Linked DNA regions of Homo sapiens: region 2 is linked to region 1. Evidence: promoter capture Hi-C in 16 types of primary human blood cells and fetal thymus (Javierre and others, 2016). All regions are on one chromosome and are shown on one strand. The core of a region is centred on a gene start or on the middle of the fragment in contact, and the rest is flanking DNA. Distances in the headings are between cores, read along the strand shown.

Evidence for each region. The method cuts DNA at HindIII sites, captures the fragments that hold promoters and counts their contacts. A CHiCAGO score of 5 or more calls a contact.
Region 2: a contact is called between the fragment with the promoter of OR8B4 here and the fragment with the promoter of OR8B2 in region 1, in 1 of 17 cell types (neutrophils). The highest score is 7.1, in neutrophils.

Annotation. Positions count from the first base shown.
Region 1 is chr11:124,381,340-124,387,238 of GRCh38, forward strand. It overlaps OR8B2 (olfactory receptor family 8 subfamily B member 2), which reads right to left and starts at 3,160. Exons shown (of 2, transcript NM_001005468.2): 1 at 3,035-3,160; 2 at 1,055-2,021. The coding sequence starts at 2,004. The coding sequence ends at 1,063. The HindIII fragment of the contact is 13,920 bases long and covers 1-5,899 here.
Region 2 is chr11:124,421,507-124,427,405 of GRCh38, forward strand. It overlaps OR8B4 (olfactory receptor family 8 subfamily B member 4), which reads right to left and starts at 3,365. Exons shown (of 1, transcript NM_001005196.1): 1 at 2,436-3,365. The coding sequence starts at 3,365. The coding sequence ends at 2,436. The HindIII fragment of the contact is 2,701 bases long and covers 1,827-4,527 here.

The DNA of each region.
Region 1 (5,899 bases), core at 1,910-4,409:
CGGGAGTTGGAGGCTGCAGTAAGCTATGATCGAATCACTGCACTCCTATCTGGGTGACAACCTTTATATAAAATGTGTTTCATGTCTTATTGGTGAGATAAAGTTTAAGTAGGCTCACAAAATATTTGTAGAAATATAGTTTATTAATATTAATATACATTCCTTATGATAAACCACACTGGATAAGGAAAATGTTGTATAAAATATTTCTACTAACAATGTGCAGTATTTACCTATAATGAGTAAAAAATAACATTTACAGTAGGAACTACATGCTTTTTTTCAAAATTTTCAGTGCTGTTTTAGACAGTAATAAATGAAGTTTTATAATGTAAACTATATTCCCCCTTATTGGAATCCTGAGGTGCACATGTATTATTTCTCTAATCATCCTCTGTTAATGCTGCCTTTGGCAATAAAAGGTGGAGATACACATATTCTCTGCTGTATCAAATGGACTGGAATGATAGAGGTTCTCAAAAGCAAACGGCATGTGGTACAAATTTTGCCATTCTCAAAGGGAACAAGAAAAGTCAGAATAATAAAAGGCAAAATGGTGACAACATAGAACAAAAGGACAAGATCAAGGGGAACTGATTCTGCTTTAAATTACCTACCATTTGTAGTGGATATATTTCATCAAATCCAGCTGCCTATATCTGTAACAATGTTGATAAAAATAAGAATGCTTCTATCATATTTGGCACTTCTGTGTTTAGGTGAGAAAGCTGTGACTTTGACATTTTTATAATTCATGAAATTTACCACATTTTTCCAATTAAGAATAGCCCAGGAGAGAGGAAAGGTAGAAAATGATGAAGAAAAATATCAGTGCATATGTTCCCTTTACAAATATGCCATGACCTCTTTAGTAATATTGCGAGAAGTGCCAGAGATGCAAAAACAAAAAAGAAGACACAAGATGATCTCATAAGAGAAATGATAAGACAAGTTTATTAAATCACACATAACACCATCTGTAGAAACAACAAAATCTCTTCATGAAAAACACTAATAAAAATTTGAAGTCCTTCAATTGTTTTACATCATTACTGCTTCTAATTAGAATATATTTCTCCTCTGAATTTTAATCAGAGCTTTCCTCAGTGCAACTTTGACATCCTTGTTCCTCAAACTGTAGATGAGGGGATTGAGCATGGGCACCACATTAGTGTAGAAAACAGAAGAAACTTTTCCCTGCTCCATAGATCCAGAAGAATATTTAATATACATGAATGCCGCTGACCCAAAAAACAGAGACAGAGCAATGACATGAGAGCTACAAGTACTGAAGGCTTTTGATCTTCCTTGAGTGGATTTGATATGAAGAATGCTAGTGACAATGAAAACATAAGAAATGAGGATGGTACAACTGGGTACCGTGATATTAGTACCCACAACAATGAGAACAACCACCTCGTTGACATAGGTGCTGGTGCAGGAAAGCTGGAGGAGGGGGAGTATGTCACACAAGTAATGGTTGATGATATTAGCACTGCAGAAGGTGAGTCTAAGCATGCACCCGGTGTGGGCCGTGGCTCCAGCCAATCCCATTATGTAAGCAGCAAAAGTGAGCATAGAACAGACCTGATGGGACATGGTGACCTTATACAGCAATGGATTACAGATGGCCACATAGCGATCATATGCCATTGAAGTCAACATGTAACATTCAGAGATGACGAAAAAGAGAAAGAAAAACAGCCGAGTCATGCACCCAACATTGGAGATAATATTCTTTTTTGACACAAAGTTCATTAGCATTTTGGGAGTGAAAACAGAGGAGTAACAGAGATCAATGAAGGAGAGATTGAAGAGGAAATAGTACATTGGTGTGTGGAGGTGAGAATTTAGACCGAAAAGAGTGATCAAGCCAAGGTTGCCTACCATGGTGACAATGTAGATCACTAGAAACAGGAAAAAGAGGGGTTGCCGGAACTCTGGATGATCTGTTAATCCAGCAAGAATAAATTCAGTCACTAAGGAGTTGTTTCTAGCCAGCATTTTTTGTCTTCAAAAATCTGGGAAGACAAAAGAAAATTCTATTAGGAACACAGATTTCTTTTTACAAAATCTCATTAATGAGGAGGGGACTCAGGCTGTAGGAATTTGGGTGAGTTCTTTGTTTCATGGGATCTGAATGTACTGAATGTACTGCCACTCCCACTCCTCAACATTTCAGTCAGTGTCTTTTGTCTGTACAGACTGAATGTGACAAACAATTGCTCCTGTCCTTACTAGAAGACACAGAGGTGGAGTAGCTGAGGCACAGGCCTACCTGCTGTTGAGCTTGGGTTATATGGATGTGTCTCATCTCCCTCACTTCCATCTGTCCCTTCACTTCCTAGTTTCTACTTATGTTTCCATTATTCTACTAGACACTTCAATTTCCCTGTGATGACCACCAGGTAAGGGAGGATTCCTTTAGGGCGGAGACCATACTGATATTCTGTTTCCTAGACAGGGGTCTCCTATAGGGTTTCTAGATACCTTACTATAAGAATCCATGAAGTCACCGGGTGATAAAAGAAGACCCTTAGTAGTCGAGGCCTTATGATTCACCACATACAAATCACATAAGTGTTTCTACACATTCTCCTCTATTCCATCCTAGCTAGACAGAGGATGAAGAAAGGAAGCTGAATGTGCTTTCACAGGTCTTTGTAGGAAGGCATAAGGGAAACATAATTAATTTGGGTACAGTTATATTAGTTGTTAAGTTTGTAAAATTTTACCAAACTGGTATTTTTATGACCCTTAAACTCTTCTATATGTATAGCACATGTCAATATATTTTTAATAAAGAGACAAATCTCCTTTCCTGGCATTCCTCTGTTCTGGATGTGTCACTTGGAACTGCTATTGCTATCCTGATACCAGGCTGAGAATGAAGCCAACAGAGAGAACAGTGTGAGAAAAATGCAAGCCCGAGAGTCAGAGCTCCATACCACTAAGTTTCTTGCTATTGAATAAATACTTTTCCCCATTTTTCAGCAACATCCAGGAGAGAGAAATAGAAACTTGATTAACTCACCTTCCTTCCACTCAGAGAACTCAGTGCTGACCATTGATATGTGTTTCACCTCCACTGCCCTGGAGGTAGAACTGGTGGTGAAGGTATCTACGTTGACCACATGTAGTCAAAGAATCTTCTTCTCCCTTACCTGGCAAAAGCATTGAGCATAGATCTCAGAATCTGAATGTTCTGGGAATCATTCTGAGGTGTAGATCAAACTATTTATAAATTTGCCAAGAGGGTTTGTTAGAAAATCAGACTTCACACCAGACCCACCATGTCCACCGTCATAGAGACATGGCATTTGCTCAAGGCTCATAATTCTTAGACCTGATTACATACCAACAGTAAGTCTCTCTCAGGACCTCCCCTACCATGACACACTCTGCAGGGAAGAAATTATATGCCTGTGTTTACAGCCTAACTTGTTGTTGTAGATGTAAACTTTTCATCAGGGATTATACAATCCACAGGGCATAGGAGAAAGAGCCTCTGCTGTCATGTATAAAGATGTAAACATAAAGATTGTCAGAATTTTTGCTAATTATAATTATCGGCAGTGTTAGCTTTAACAAGTATGTATGTATAATTTAGTAAAGTTTATTGCTATGCTCATTTTTAATATTGTGAGTCCTTTTAAATAATCCATTTTTAGTTTTGCATACTTTATAGGCAAAAAGAAAAGAAAAAGAATAAAGAAAAGGATACTTTTAATTGATTTCAGATTTTTTAAATAAAATTTTGTGTAACATAGAATGATCCTTTATTTCATCAAAATTTAATTATCTTGGGTTGCTCTAACTCAACATGTCTTTGCCTTTAACAGGTTAAAATCAAATCTGTAAGAAAAATCACTAATCATGTGCCCTCATTTTAAGACAGTATGACTTCAGAATTTCCCGGTAGGTAGGAATTTGTGCTTGTGAGAAGGCATCTATATTTTTTACCTTTTTATTTTAAAATTATTAGAATCACAAGAAGTGGCAAAAGTATATGTAGATTCCCTTGGACACTTCACCCAGCTTCCTCACACAGAGACATCTTCCACAACTGTAGGACAATAGCAAAATCAGGAAACTGACATAGGTTCAATAATGTTAAAGAAACTACAGACCTTATTCAGCAATTTAACATGCGTGTGTGTGTGTGTGTGTGTGTGTGTGTGTGTCTGTGTGTGTGTGTAGATCTATGCAGTTGAATCCTATGTACCTATTTATGTAACAAAAACCTAAGTCAGGATACAGAATTCTTTCTTTTTTTTCTTTTTCTCTCTCTCTCTTTTTTTTTTTTTTAAAGACAGGGTCCTACTCTGTCACCCAGGCATGAGTGCAGTGGTGCAATCACAGCTCACTGCAGCCTCAACCTCCAGGACTCAATAGATCGTCCCACCTCAGCCTCCCAAGTAGCTGGCACTACAGGCACATGCCACCACACCTGGCTAATTTTTTAATTTTTTGTAGGGATAGGGGGTCTCACTATGTTACCCAGGCTGGTCTTGAACTCCTGGTCTCAAGAAACCCTCCTGCCTCAGCCTCCCAAAAGTGTTGGGATTACAGGCATGAACCACCATGCCTGGCCTCTAATTAATTCTTAAACAGACTTTTAAGCATTCCATTTGTTCTGCCCCATCCTCACTTCTTCCAGAAATATCTGCTGTCGTGAAATTGTGAGAATGTTGGAGACTGTGTGTAAATCAGGTGTGTTCTTGGTTTTCCCAGTTCTATCATAGGGTCAGATGTTGTAAGAATGCCAGTGCAGATACTGCTTGTTTATCTACTGTCTAATTTCCAAAATCTGGGAGTTGTTCTAATTCTACCTTTTTTTTTTGTCCCTGGGAGCGAACACCATTTTTATTTTTATATATTTATTTATTTTTTTCCCTTCTGATTTGCTTCATTTTTTTATTTTATTATTATTATACTTTAAGTTTCAGGGTACGTGTGCACAATGTGCAGGTTAGTTACATATGTATACATGTGCCATGTTGGTGTGCTGCACCCATTAACTCCTCATTTAGCATTAGGTATATCTCCTAAAGCTATCCCTCCCCCCTCCCCCCACCCCACAACAGTCCCCAGAGCGTGATGTTCCCCTTCCTGTGTCCATGTGTTCTCATTGTTCAATTCCCACCTATGAGTGAGAATACGTGGTGTTTGGTTTTTTGTTCTTGCGATAGTTTACTGAGAATGATGATTTCCAATTTCATCCATGTCCCTACAAAGGACATGAACTCATCATTTTTTATGGCTGCGTAGTATTCCATGGTGTACACGTGCCACATTTTCTTAATCCAGTCTATCATTGTTGGACATTTGGGTTGGTTCCAAGTCTTTGCTATTGTGAATAGTGCCGCAGTAAACATACGTGTGCATGTGTCTTTATAGCAGCATGATTTATAGTCCTTTGGGTATATACCCAGTAATGGGATGGCTAGGTCAGATGGTATTTCTAGTTCTAGATCCCTGAGGAATGGCCACACTGACTTCCACAAGGGTTGAACTAGTTTACAGTCCCACCAACAGTGTGAAAGTGTTCCTATTTCTCCACATCCTCTCCAGCACCTGTTGTTTCCTGACTTTTTAATGATTGCCGTTTTAACTGGTGTGAGATGGTATCTCATTGTGGTTTTGATTTGCATTTCTCTGATGGCCAGTGATGGTGAGTATTTTTTCATGTGTTTTTTGGCTGCATAAATGTCTTCTTTTGAGAAGTGTCTGTTCATATCCTTTGCCCACTTTTTGATGGGGTTGTTTGTTTTTTTCTTGTAAATTTGTTTGAGTTCATTGTAGATTCTGGATATTAGCCCTTTGTCACATGAGTAGGTTGCGAAAATTTTCTCCCATGTTGTAGGTTGCCTGTTCACTCTGATGGTAGTTTCTTTTC
Region 2 (5,899 bases), core at 2,115-4,614, 40 kb after region 1:
TCCACTGGAAGTTCTCCTTGTACTCTCGCTCTTCCTACTTGGAGGGTCACTTACCTATATTCTCCCACATGGTTAGAAATGTGAGAGACAACAGTTTACTCCTCCTGATACTCCAAAACTATGTCATCACTTAATCGTTAAACAATTCTATTTGAACATCAATGTTAATAAGACTTGCGTGTTTCCAGTTTACAACTGATTACAGATTCTGATTGTAGCTCAGGGTCAGAGTTATAGATTTGAAAGTCACCATCAAATGCGTGGTTGTTGAAGTCACCTGAGTCAGAGAAATGCCTCAGGAAGAGCCCAGAAGAGAAGGAGACCAAGAACTGAACCTAGAGGAATCTCAACCTTAAGGATGCTTCCTAAAGAGAAAAAAGTAGCCTTGCTAGAAATTAAAACGTCATGACGTGAGGAGATGATGGAGTCGTGGTCTTGTGACAGAAGGACTCATTTAGGACAGATCTGACACTCAGTTTCAACTTACTTCTCTGTTACTGTAATGCCACAGCCCTCAACCCTCCTTCTATTTGTTTAACACTGTGAGAACAAACAATTCCTTAACGTCAACCCAAAACAATATGCAAGATGACCCATCCTTGGTTTGAGACAGAAGTGCAGGCCTTCTGAATTTATTTAATGTTGCATTTTCTGTGGAAGCAGTAGATGCTCTTATTTGGCTTTACAAGAGCCAAGAAAAGTCTCTCTGAGTTTTTGTCATGTAAGATCCTCAGTCAAAAAGGAACTTCTTTCCAAAAGAGCCAAGCCAGTGTCTCATTAAGTCAAACATACTTTCACGGCTACTCACCCCAGTGCCAATATGGAGTGAATGCAGGGAAAGTTATTCTTGGACTTTGATGCATTGATTACATAATTGTTCCTTTCCATTCATATCCTATGCCCTGACTTAGTTCTTGTTCCCGCTCATTTATACCAATGGTAATTGTTTTTTTTTCTTTATCCGTATCAAAGTAGATTTACTTTTGTCCTTCCTTATTCTTGATTCTTTTCTAATATCCCAAGACCCCCATGGACCTAGACACAGACAGTCCACTGGAGGGTGGGATTCAGCAAGGCCCAGAGGACTGACCAGCAGTGGTTGAGTAAGGTATTAAATCAATTCCAATGAATGAATTAATATATTTAAGGTACCTCAAATGGTGCACAAACACATGGTGCAAGTTCAGTAACTGTTAAGTGTCATTATTATCATAATCAAAGCATAATCCAAGTATCAGAGTTTTTCTCCTCCAAAGATCTTCCTCTAGCAGATTTGGAGAAGATAGATAGAGTTTGTCTCACGTCTCCTGTTGGTCAGACCTGTGCTGCAGTTGCTTCTCTGCCCTGCTCTCAGCTCTCCCTCAGAATGTCTCCTGGCCACGAGCTGGAGCACTGAACTCTTCAATGTAGAACAGCAGAACCTTTAGCAGAGTAATACAGAGTGGTCTTTGGCACTCAAAATCCAGATCCCTTCCAGACTCCCTGAGAGTGGGACGTGTAATATGACTCCTCTTTCTTTCCGATTCTATATTGATTAACTGTAATACACATACAGACACACACACACACACACACACACACATATAAACATGCACACACGTTGTCAGAACTGTAAAATCTAAATCCACTTTAAAGAATAAGCAATCTTCCTAAAATCCAGTAGTGTGCTTAGTATCTCCAGAGCAAGGCAGAGGCCACATTTTACAGATCATGCAAATCCGTGGAGTTCTTCCTTGTTTCTTCTTCCAGCCTGAGTCTCCGGAGCCTAAGAAATTGGCCCAATTACACAGGATCACTTACCCCTGATTACCATTCCAAGGCCCAGAAGCTTTAGAACTTTGAAATAAAAGATTTGGATTTGATTTATCCTTACAGAGCAGATCATAGAAAATTCTTGTGTGAGGGCTTCTTTTATGTACATACATGTATATGAAAAGGAGGGTTTATGATCTTCCTGACCAAGCAACCTCCTGAAGAGCTGGATATATAATCATATTAGCACTGGCACCAAGGTATCTACCATTGATCTTTAATAAGTCTGCTTATGTAACTAAAGAGAAAACACTCCTCAACCTTTATACCACCACCTGCCCCTTGTTCCAGCCAGAAACGTTCTTGCTCAGAAAAACCCATTTAGCCTACCAAGAAAAGAATGGAAGGCATGGAGCCTCATCTTACTCATCTCTTGGGCCTAATACAGAGTTCAGTAAACAAAAGGCATTTCATAGACACTAACTTGCAGGCAGTGAGCCAATTTAATTGTTGCAAAATAATATAGTCCTCAAGGAGAGTATAGGAAAGAGATTTCCAATTTTTAAAAGTGGAGAGGAGACCCTCTTTGAGGAAAAATATTAAAATTCCTCCGCCTATAAATAGAAAGACACTTGAGTATCATGCTTACCGAGAATCGGTTGCCAGTGATATGAAGAGACCCATTAGAAGAGCACTCTCTTCAGGGTTTTGCCCAGGGCAAGTTTATCATCCTTATTCCTCAAACTGTAGATCGAAGGGTTAAGCATGGGAACCACATTGGTGTAAAAGACTGAGGCAAATCTGCCATGGTTCATAGAGCCAGGAAAAGATGTTGTTAAGTAGGTGAATGTCCCTGACCCAAAAAACAGAGCAACAGCAATTATGTGGGAGCCCCATGTGCTAAAGGCTTTGGATCTGCCCTCTGCAGAAGGAATACAGAGGATGTTGGAGAGTATCAAAGCGTAAGAGATGACGATGCTTATGCTGGATAGCATGGTGATTACTCCAACAACAATGAAAAATACCAGCTCACTGACATGGGTGCTGGTGCAGGAGAGCTGCAAGAGGGGGAGAACGTCACACAGATAATGGTCAATGACGTTGGAATCACAGAAGGTCAGTCGCAGCATGCTTCCAGTGTGGGCCATGGCCCCAGCAAACCCTACCACATAGGAACCAAACATCAGCAGAAAGCAGACCCTTGGGGACATGGTGACCATGTAGAGCAGGGGGTTGCAGATGGCCACATAGCGATCATAGGCCATTGATACCAACACATAGCACTCAGAATTGACAAAGAAACAGAAGAAAAATAGCTGAGTCATACATCCCACATAAGAGATGATACTTTCTGAAACAAAGTCATTCAGCATTTTGGGGGTAAACACACAGGAATAACAGAGATCTATAAAGGACAAGTTGAAGAGGAAAAAGTACATGGGGGTGTGAAGGCTAGGATTTATCCCAATTAAGGTGATCAAGCCCAAGTTGCCCACCACAGTGAACACATAGATCCCTAAGAATAGAAGGAAAAGAGGGAGCTGGAGCTCTGGCTGTTCTGATAATCCCACAAGGATAAACTCAGTCACTGAGGAGCTGTTTCTCAGAGTCATTCTCTCTTGGCGAGCTGTCTGGGGAAGCAGAGGGCAAAACACAAAGAGTCATGACAGGCACAAGCATGGCTAAGGGAAGAAGACTCTAGTGGACCAGCCAGTGTGCAGATGCCCTCTCTTCCATCCTCCCTCATCTACACACCTCCCCACCCTGAGGTATTAACAACGTGTCTGTGAGAGGATCTCAGCTCTGCTGGGCCGATCATGAATTCAAGCTAGCATCTGTTACCATGGGCAGCAAGAATTCCGTCTCTGCTTGAGAGATGACGAGGGAGACAACACACCTGAATTGGCTGCCCAGGGACTCTCAGAAAGACACCCTGAGAACCAAGAGTACAACCTGGGCCGCTGCCTCAAGAGCTGAGAGACCAGAGCTCTCAAGGTCACCAGGATGCCCTCCCATTCTCTGCCTCCGTCTCCCAACTAGATAGTGGATTTCCATCTGGAGAGAAAGCCAAGAGTGTTACCTGCTGGCTCTTTACATCCCACCCGCCTCCTCGAAGACCCTCCATTCCATCTCACCTCAGGGTCAGTGTTGAGAGCAGAGACGGGATCCATACTTCCCAGAGCCCTTGGTTGTGGGTTTCAAAGAGACCATCAGGAAAGACAGGATTCGGACCTTCACCTTCCTTCTCCCGGGCCCCACTCAGTGCTGGGCCTTACGCCATCTCTTTTTCCATTAGCCAGAAAGAGAAAATGGTGCTGCTTGTGCAGAAAGCACACAGCCTTGCGTATTACCTCTTTTGACTCCCTTGGTGCTGAGAATCAGAGCTTTTACAGACCCCAGGCTCCAAGGTGCTCAAGGAATAGACCATGGTTTCTGTTTGTGGATTTTCCCAGGTGGTCTTGACAACTTCAGGAAAAAAAACTAGGAACTCTCATTTTGACCAGAACCCCAGCTGTCATATCACAGAGGAATTTAAGCTGCTTGACGATCTCAGGGACCTGATTAGACACAGTTTCCCCTGGGAATTTCTCCAAGATCTGTCTCTATAGGGAAGGAATTGCACTGTCTTTGTTTACAGCCTGGATAACGGTGCTTACCTAGCATCTTGGGAGTGGGGGTTCCACTCAAACTTTCCCTCTACTCCAGGGATTTCATGTTATTCAGTGCTGAGTTTGGGGACTCATTTTTTCCTTTCTCATTAACTCTCAGAGCCTAAGCTTGAATTTAAGAGTGAATAGCCCCAACCTAAGCCACCATCTCCAAATCTTCACAGGGAGCTATGAGAGTAGGACCCCTCAGAAAAGGTCAGATCAGATCTACAGAGAGCACCTCAGATAAAAGGCTTCTTGGACCATGCGCTGCTCAGAACAGAAACCACACCACCTCCACCACAAACACCACCTACTCGCAGCTCTAATAAGGGCCGCAGACAGGCCTTTACTATATATGAAGAGATTAAAATATCACAACACATATGCTAGAAAGCACACACACACACACACACACACACACACACACACACACACACCCCTACACAGAGTTACTCTCTAGGCATGCAGGCTTAAGGTATAATGGGAGATGGATGTAAGGGTCTAATCCTGCCATTATTCAGATGACAAAGCTGCTCTCCATATGATCTGCTAGATGAATATTTTAAGAAAAATTCAAAGACATGGGAGCATCTGCATTTGTAAGTTTCACTAAGGCTACCTAAAATAATCCCAGTTCGCCTGGGACAGTCCTGACTTACACTCATTATCTCTGTATAATTATTAATAGCATACCCTTTCACTCTCAGAAGTGTCTGGACTTGGACAACAAATTGTGTATACTAACTAAAAGTAAGTAGGCATATTTACCTAAAGACATGCCAAGATTGTGCACTGCAGCGTTGTCCTTAACAGCCACAAACTGAAATCACCCCATCTGTCAGCCAACTGTAGACCGGATAATAAATGGTAGGATGTTAATAAAATAGAATTCCATATAGCCATGAAAGATAATGACATAGATAAATGTCACAAACCAACAGAGAGTGAAAGGAGCCAAGCACAGAAGAGGGTATATTTTATGATTTCATTTACATACAGTTTAGAAACAAGGAAGCTAATCTATGGTGCTAGAAGTCACACAGCAGTTCCTCTTGGCTGGGCAGGCAGGGGCTAGTGACTGGAGAAGGATGTGAAGGGTGCTTTAGGGTTGCTGGCAATGTCTGGTTCTGACAGGGGTGCTGGTGACACAGATGTATGCAGTTAGCAAAAATTCATCGAGCTCTATCCTTATGTTACACTTAAATAAAAAGTTTATTTAAAACGTAAGTGGAGAACAAAAAATAAATCATCCTACCAAATTAGTTTAAGACAAAAATTACTCAACAGCTTTGAGCTATAATTCCCCCATTTGTAAAATGGATATTTACTGCCCTGACAACTCAATATAGTAGAACGTGCAAGAAAAATAACACCGTTTATGTTTCTTTTCCATCTTATGTCTCTTAAAATAAAAAACCATTTTTTAATATAAAGGGAAGAAATCAAGAGAAAAGAGAATTAATGCATATGGAGCAACTACAGAGTGCCTGGCCTTA